2 separate regions of the Homo sapiens genome follow, and region 2 is linked to region 1. The links are contacts of gene promoters, found by promoter capture Hi-C in blood cells and fetal thymus (Javierre and others, 2016). All regions are on one chromosome and are shown on one strand. Each heading gives the region's core, a stretch centred on a gene start or on the middle of the fragment in contact. The rest is flanking DNA. Distances are from core to core; before and after follow the strand shown.

Region 1 (4,199 bases), core at 118-2,617:
AGGAAAATCCTCACTGAAAAAATTACATTTGGGCAAATATTCGCAGGAGCTGAATAGTAAACCATGTAAACATTTGTGAAGAGCAATCCCACAGAGAGGACAGCAAATGCAAAGGTCCTGAAGCAGAGGCTTGGAAGAGAGAGTAACTGAAGCCAGGTGAGCAATAAGAAATTGGTCAGAGAGGTAAAGGGAAAGAGGGCAAATAATTACAAGAATTTTGGTTTTTACTCTGGATGAAGTACAAAGCCACCAGAAAGTTTTCTGCAGAGTGTAATGTGATCTGATGTTTAGAAGGATTCCTTTGGTTATTGGCTTGGTAACAGGTGCTGATACAAAGGTAGAAAGTGGAAGACCAGTTAGGGTCCCACTACAAAAATGCCAGATGAGATAATAATGGCTTAGGCCATGAGGCAATGATGGAGATGGTAGAAGTAGCAATTCTAGACCTATTTTGAGGACGGTGCCAGCAGGATTTATTGAGGAGATGTGAGGACACTCGTATTTCCTCGTCTGAGCCTAAACAGGACATTAGAAGTGTGATCACTATTTCTATCTTACAAAAAATGTAGTTAGGAGCATGGTTTCTCAGTTCGAAATCTGCTTCTATCACGTACTTGGTAAGTCTGTTTTTCCATCTGCAAAATGGGTTAATAACGTTCCTAACAGGCTGCTACCAAGATCAATGGAAATTTCATATACGAAACACTTTAGTACAAGAGTCAATGAATGTTAGCTGCTATTTAGTTGTTAATAATACTAGTGCAGAGAAATAAAGGGAAAAGCAACTTGCCCAAAGTCCCAAAACGAGCCAACACAAATCATTTCCCTTTTTTCTTCCCTCCCTCATTCATTCATTCTACACACTCTTCGGAATTTTTGTTCTATGCCAGATCCATGTTAGAGTCAGGATGCTTAAACCCGGGTCAGGGTTTTGAGCCCAAGGTCCTCAACTCTAATTCTAATGCTATCTCAGGGCAGTCGAGAGGCTGAAAACGGGCGCCAAACGGGGGAACACGTACGCAGCATTCGCAGGCTATGGGGAGCTTTTACAGTGTTTATGTGCTTTAACTCTGCGTAGAAACTCTCGTTCTGCCCCCGCAATGCGGGAAAGGGTCAGGGATCACCAGATACAGCGCTCTGAGGGGAGGAAGATGAGCTGAGGGCCAAAGGCCGCCTGCTTCTTCACTTACCGCTTGCAGCAAGGCTCCCGGCGTCGCCTGCTGCTGCCCGGCTCCTGGGCCAGACCCCGCTCCCAACAGCAACTCATGCCGCTGCCGCTTGACTGGAACCAGCGGCAACTCTGGGCCCTTACGCTTCTGCTGTTCTATCATGGCGGCAACCGGTCTCTTCAGCGCCGCCACTGACCGCGCTGCCGCTCTCAGGCGCCACGCAATTGGTTCCAAATTAGTCCTTCCTCCACAACTTCCAGCTTGGAAGAACCAATCGGCTTTCAATATTTCCATTTGCACCGCCCTCGGATAGTCTCTTGTTATTGGGCATATCTTTCTGACGTCATGAGAGTGCGATACCAGGATTGGTGGACGGAGCTGGCGACCGCCCTAGGCGCGCTGGGTCTTGTGGGTGGAAACGCGCTGGCTGACTGGGGTCGGCGTTTAGTTCAGCGCAGCGACTCGGGGACCTGGAGCTGACGCCTAGTACGTATGAGGAAGAACGGGGTGGGTGGCTGCCTGAGTCTGGAGGCGACGCCTCGGTTGTGCAGTCTGAACCTGCCCTTCTCAGCTGAGGGTGCTGACAGCAAGGGGTGGGAGGCGGGCCCCGAGTCCCCAGCTGTGGTAAGTAGTAGCCTGGGCTCCCTTTCGGGGCAGGAGCGGAGCCTTGGGGTCTCTGGCGGCAAGACCCAGCCCCTGCGGCTCCCTTCTTCAAGAGCGCCCATCGTGGCCAGTCCTGTGCCGGGCATTCCCAGGGAGAAAGGCCTGCGTCCCAGCCTCCTCCGGTGCCCCATTTGGCCGAGGAGGCTGACTTGTTTCTGCCACTGATTTTGCAGTTTTTGATCAGGGCCTACTGTATGCCCCCCTGAGAGAGACAGTGATGAAGGAAATGTCCGACTCCTTCTCCAGAGCACAGTCTTGTTGAGAAATTTGAGACTCATGCCCATGAACGTGGTCATTGCCTCAGTCGTCCTGCTGATATTCATTTAGCAGCGCGTTGGGGGTATGTTGTGAACCGGGCACGGTCCCTACTCTCAGGGCGTTTAACTCTGGTGGGGAAAACGTTAAACAATGACCTCACTAATACATGGAAATGCCTCCTACTGCTGCCTGATGCTATGAGTGCCTGAAATAAGCAGGAAGGTTTTTCAGAGGAAAAGATGCCTGCGCTGGTAGCTGCAGGAAGTGTTGTAATTAATTAGGTGAAGAAGTGAAGGCAGAACCTTCCATAGAGAACTACTTGTTCAGAGCCCTGAGGCACTTGGGAGGAAAATGACTAAAAGCACAAAGAGCCAGTGTGGCTGGTACAAAGAGAATGAAGGGAGTATGGTACAAGATGAAGCTGTACGTGATAGCGGTCAGACCTTGCAGGAATTTGTAGCTTTTATTTTAAAACGGATGAGATACCACTGAGCCGTCTTCCCCCAGTGGGGTGTGGTGGAGGAGGGGACTTGATCCCTCAGGCTCAGTGGTGTGAACAGACGGGGGTTGGGGAAGCCCTAGTCGATGTATGTGGACCACTTGGGATATGCAGTAATCCTGGTCAGAGATGTCAGTGAGGACTGAGATATGGGTGGAACTGCAGAGAATTGGACAGATTCTAGAGGTATATAGGAGGTAAAATGGGTGGGACTTGGTGATGGGTTGATTTTAGGGAGTGAAGAGAGGAATCAAAGGTAACTCCTAGGTTTCTGGCTTATGTAGTTGAATAGATGGTGGTACCATTCACTCACTATCACGGAATCCCTCAAGCTGGATAGGGAACACTAGAAGATGATTAGAGACCAGTTTTTTTTTGTTTTTTTTTTTTTTTTGAGACAGGTTCTTGCTCTGTCGCCCAGGCTGGAGTGTGGTGGTGCAACCTTGGCTCACTGCAACCTCCACCTCCCAGGTTCAAGCAATTCTCCTGCCTTAGCCTCCCCAGTAGCTGGGATTACAGGCGCCTCCACTGTGCCCGGCCAATTTTTGTATTTTTGGTGGAGATGGGGTTCCACCATATTGGCCAGGCTGGTCTCCAACTCCTGGCCTCAAGTGATCCACCTGCCTCAGCCTCCCAAAATTCTGGGATTACAGGCCTGAGCCACTGCTCCCAGCTGAGATCAGTTTTTATTGATTGATTGATTGATTGTGTGGGGTCATTCATGACATCCAAGAGGCAGTTTGAAATACAGCTTTGTGCTCAGAAGAGAGATTTGTGTTGGGAATATAAAATTGGGCATAATTTGTATATACATGAATTGAGCCATAGGTGTGGGTAAGGTCAGCTAAGTCAGAACCTTGACTAGTTCCAACATTTAATGGTGAAGAACAGGTGAACCTACAGGAGATACAGAAGAAAGGAAGGAGGACTGGAAGAATGTCTCAGAAGCAAAAGAATGATTTGTGATAGAAATTTCTAGAATTTAAATAACATGAAGATTGAAAAACATATTTTGGCTTTTATCATCATGGAGGTCACAGTAACCTTAGCAAGAGTTATTTTGTTGGTGTGATTGGGCCAAAAGCCAGATATGAGGCAAGGATTTGGACAAGAAAATGTAGGTAGTGAACCTACACAGTATTTTTCATAGATCTGATTGTAAAGAGGAGGAGAGGATGTGCTAACCGATGGGGATAAGGGATTATCCAGGATCCAGTTGAGGATCCAGTTTTGAGAAATTTGAGAATATTGTAGAAGATTTGAAAGTCACTGTGGAGTGTGGGAGAATGAGGTTACTAGAGAAATGTAGGATGCAAGGAAAAAAAAAATTTTTTTCCAGCATATCCAGCGGTTTAGTGCATGCATGGAGAAAACCTTTCTGGGTATGGCAAGGACATCGCTTGCTCAAGACACATTCTAACCTCTAATATGTCTTCTCTTCCTGAAAAATCTGGAAAACTAAAAACCATTTTCTTGACTCCCTTGCACCTAAGGTGAAAATTGAATTTGGAACTGAGTTAAATGTGGAAAGAAGGAGGGTGTGAGTCATCCAGTTTTGCTGCCAGTCATGGCAGTAAATTTCTCCAGTCAATAGCTCCCTGGTTTGGTGG
Region 2 (4,182 bases), core at 237-2,736, 490 kb after region 1:
CTGCTGTCGTCCGCGGGTAGGGCAGCCGCAGAGCTCATGGGGCAGAGAAGAAGGGCTCCCCCAACCGACCATCGCCCCACCCCTTCCAGTCCAGCAGGGGCCAGGGTGAGGCCTGTACATGGGTGGACTTTGCGAAGGGGTGAGCAAAGAGCGGGTAGGGCCCTTCTGGCCCCGGGGCGAAGGGTGGGGTTCTAGAGAGGTTCTCTCCTGGAAGCCAGGCCCCTTTCCCCACGCTGGGTTGGTTGGCCCTGGCAGCTGGTTCCCCCATCAGTCCGCAGATGCAGCTCTCTCGAGGTACACCCCACATGAAACGCTTGACAGTTGCAGTTGCTGTTAGAAGCTTGTTCTAGGCCCAAGGCAAGGCAGCACCGTCCAACCCTAATACCAGTCTCCAACCCCACCCTGAATGCCCACCACCAAGGCTAAGACCTTTGACATTTTCTAACACCAGTCTCTGGAATCTGGCAAGAGATACAGAGAGGAGTCACCCAATCTGGATCTCCTGACTTCCTCAACAGAGACCTACACACAGGCAGGCCATGAAACTCACACAGATACTCTCACATGCTTGCAGGCACACTAGTGCACAGAGATCCCTGAGAAGCACATAGACAGAGACTCGGAGGGAATATGGTGAAGGTATGTACTATCCTTCCCCATCTAGTCAAAGGAAAAAAAAATCTTAGTATTAACTGAAAAATTTAAAGTCCACTGCAACTTGCTTATCTTTTCCTCTCTAGCAATCTCTTGATGTCTGATGTCTGTGACCCTCCAAAAGGCTCTGTCCATTTCTCTCTCCACCCCCAACCTCGGTCCTACTTTCTTTCCCACCACCACCTCTTCCTCCTGGTTCAGAATACTTGCAAAATGCTTCCAGAAACCACCGTGGCAATAGCTGTGCCCTGGGGCGCAGTGATGGTTCAGGACCTCAGACCAGCAATGAGCAAGGCTGCACATTTGTGCACAAGACACTCACTGACACACCCACTCAACCCACATCTGACCAGGACCAGGGGCTCTCCTGACCAGCTAGCAGATGCAATCCCAATTTTACCAAATTCTTTATTGAACAAAAAATCAACAGCAAACATTGTCAAACAGGAAGTTCAAACAGGGCAGGTGGGTAGGGCTGACCATCCTCTCCTTGCAGTCCCACCTCTCTCTGGAACAGGCTTCAACACTAGTGAGGGCATCAAAACCCCTGTTCTGGTGGGTAAGGAGGGTCAGGCCTTTCTAGGGAAGGGACACTCAGAGCCAGCTTCATCTGTAGGCCCCAAAGAGGAGTCACGGGCTGGGCCAGGGGGCTCTGGAGCTGCAAGGGCGCTAGACAAACGCTGCAGAGGGCGGGGGATGGAGCTCTTGGTCTGGGGGCACAGTAAGGCTTGGAGCTGGTGACTCATGGTCGCCAGGGATTCGAGGTGCCGGAGCAGGGCTTGGTGGGGACAGGAGTCCCTGTGGAAGTGCTGGCCACGGCCAAAGCCATGACCAGCTGGTGCTACTGAATAGGGATGCTGGGACTGGCGCAAGCCTGGCTCTGGGGGCCACTGCCCTCGCCCAGGATGCTGCCAGTTTTCAGGCTCTGGCCAGAGCCTCCCCCTGCCTCTGGGGGGCCTCTGCCAAGCAGAGATTCCCCTTGGAGCTATACTGCCCCTGCCCTGGCTCTGCTGCCAGGCACCTCCTGGGGGAGGGGTGCCCTTCAGGGGCACATTCGGCCTCCTGTCATCTGGCTGATAGTATCTCTTCTCCACCTTACTGTTGAAGGAGACCATCTTTTGAACCTTCCCCAACCAGGGGCTGGACCCTGCTGTGTCTGGAAGCCCTTCCTTGGGGAGCAGCACAGCCAGCAACAGACTTGAGTGAGTGACCTCCAGACCTGGGGAAAGGAGAGGGGAGACAGGAAGAGCCCAAAGGCCTGCGGGGAAGAACTGTGTTCAGCTTAGCTGCAGCAGATCTGGAGCCTACATCCCAGGAAGGGCTTCTTCACAGTGAGATGGGGCCCATGAGATGCTGGGAAAAGTAAGTAGGAAGGTGGGGCTGTCTCGGAAGATTTGAGCTCTGCGGGATCAAGGCTTATCTGGCTGAGGCTGGGGTATGGATTGTTTGACCTGAAGACTCTACAGACTCAAAGTCTACCTCATTGTCTCAGGACATGGAGCCCCAAAAGGCCAAGCGCTTTGCTCAGGAGTGGGCAAAGCGCCCACTGCCAACCTCGCTGCTTTCCTGAGCCACGCCGTGGAGGGTGTCCATGCACAGAGGCCGAGCTCGGCCCCCCGTGGCTGTGGCGAAACATCCCTCCCTCCTCTCTGAGGTGACATTTACAGTCAAGTGTGTGTAGGTCCTGACTCTGTCCTGCTGCCTGGGTCAAATGTGGCTGTCCCTGGAGTTTCTCTTCAGGGGTGCCTACCTTGAGAGGCAGTGTGGTGTGGTGGTTAGGGGCCAGGTTTCTGAAGCCATGTTGTGCTTCACACAACGTGTGAACAGAGTGAAGCCCAGTTCTGCTGTTGACTGACTGTGTGACTTTGGACAAGTCATTTGCCTTCTTCCTCCCTCAGATTCTTCTTCTATGAGATGGACAGTCTAGTCTAATAGTACCATTCTCATAGGGTGATGAGACTACAAGAATTCATCTAGGTAAAGCTTTTAGAACAATGGCTGGCATGCAGTTCATGATATCCAAGCGTGAGCTATTACTGTCATTGTACTCACATTTGCCTGGCTGGGTGAGGAGTTCCCTTCTGAGATGTGCCTGCCTCTACTGGGTGACTGTGTCAACCGTGCCTGGTCTGGTCACCAAGTGAGCAGAGGCAGGGTCTGGTATGGGGACTAGGCACTCACCTGGGCCCCCCAAAGGGCGCAGCCTGGTGGGCAGGGGCTGGAAGGCAGGCAGGGGCAGCAGGACCATCCCCATGTGCTCCACAGAGGCCAGCCCGTGGCGCTGCCTATCATTGAGGTATGAGTAGAGCAGGCGGCAGTTCTGGGTGTCCCGGGCCCCATGTGGGCACAGTCTGACCACGCAGACGTCCTGCGGTGGCAGGAGGAGAGCAGCTGTAAGCGCAGTCATCCTCTGCTCCTGCCAACACCCCTGGGCTCCCTGAAACCCCTGAGAACCCCGTGAGAAAGTATGTCTCCATCTTCCAGAGGAGGAAACAGAGGGACCTGTCCAGGGTCACACAGTGAGTCTGCAGTCACTCTGGGAACTAGACCCAGATATCCAAGCCAGGCCTCTGCTCTAGAAGTGGAGAGGGAGGTGGGAGTAAGGTACTAGGAAAAGAGGGGGTGCCCAAGAGTGGGCAGGTACCTTGGCCTTGGCTGGGCAGATGCTGGCCAGAAGGTCCCAGACAATGTTGGAGGGGATGCAGCCTGCCGAGCGGATCACGGTGGGCAGAGCCTAGGGGCAGGAAGGATGGCCAGTCAGCTCCCCAGCTTCCCACCCACTCAGGGTGGACGCATTCCCAGCCACCTGGAAGGCTGCAGCCTGTGGCAAATATGGGCAGGCAGTGTTCCAGGACCCTCAGTGGCTGCCCAGAAAGCTCTAATTGCCCCATGGAGGTCTGCAGCCTGTACTGGCTAATCTACAACTTCTCCAAAGCCCCTCCCTCCCTCCTCTATCCTCTGCTCTCATCCGACACTTTAGCTGATCATTAAGTCACTCAACGATCACTCCTAAAACCCTCCTTTGGGCCCTTCTTGCTATGGGTGACAGGGAGTCCTTCACCCTGTTTGTCTCTGTAGGAATGGGACCAACATCTCATTTGCCCCCATGCCCTGCACAGGGCCAGGCACAGAAAGGGGTGCCCATGAATTGTTTTAGAATGCATGAGTGAAAGAGAGAGAGAGAGAGAGGCTGCCTGGGCTGGTCAGTGTGTAAGGGAATCCCTGGCGAGGAGGGCAGGTGCACCTGGACAAGCCGACAGCTGTGTCCCGAGACCAGCTGGGCCCTGGCCCGGAACCGCTTGATGGAGAACATGTCCAGAACACCTTCCCAGGGTGGCAGGCAGGGCAGGGCCTTTGTGGGTGCAGCAGGCACATGGAGCCCAGATGGAGGGACCCTAGAGGGAGGGACAGAAGACAGGGCCAGACAGAGCAGGCCATGAGGACTTCCCCGGCACCTCCTTTCTTTTCAGAGCAGATCCTGTGTCCCTACTGTGGGGACTGGAACACTGGCCCAAGCTTGGCCTTGTG

What was found. The method cuts DNA at HindIII sites, captures the fragments that hold promoters and counts their contacts. A CHiCAGO score of 5 or more calls a contact.
Region 2: a fragment that was not itself captured here is called in contact with the fragment with the promoter of SNRNP40 in region 1 in 1 of 17 cell types (neutrophils); the score reaches 6.5 in neutrophils.

What each region holds. Positions count from the first base shown.
Region 1 is chr1:31,295,421-31,299,619 of GRCh38, forward strand. SNRNP40 (small nuclear ribonucleoprotein U5 subunit 40) reads right to left here and starts at 1,368. Exons shown (of 10, transcript NM_004814.3): 1 at 1,191-1,368. The coding sequence starts at 1,331. ZCCHC17 (zinc finger CCHC-type containing 17) reads left to right here and starts at 1,612. Exons shown (of 8, transcript NM_016505.4): 1 at 1,612-1,655. RefSeq lists an enhancer at 1,137-1,346. The HindIII fragment of the contact is 7,877 bases long and covers 1-4,199 here.
Region 2 is chr1:31,789,380-31,793,561 of GRCh38, forward strand. It overlaps SPOCD1 (SPOC domain containing 1), which reads right to left. Exons shown (of 16, transcript NM_144569.7): 13 at 3,899-4,049; 14 at 3,299-3,388; 15 at 2,836-3,022; 16 at 1,043-1,912. The coding sequence ends at 1,224. Among named protein-coding and RNA genes, the nearest start is that of SPOCD1, 25 kb to the right of the region's middle. RefSeq lists a silencer at 1-13. The HindIII fragment of the contact is 2,297 bases long and covers 339-2,635 here.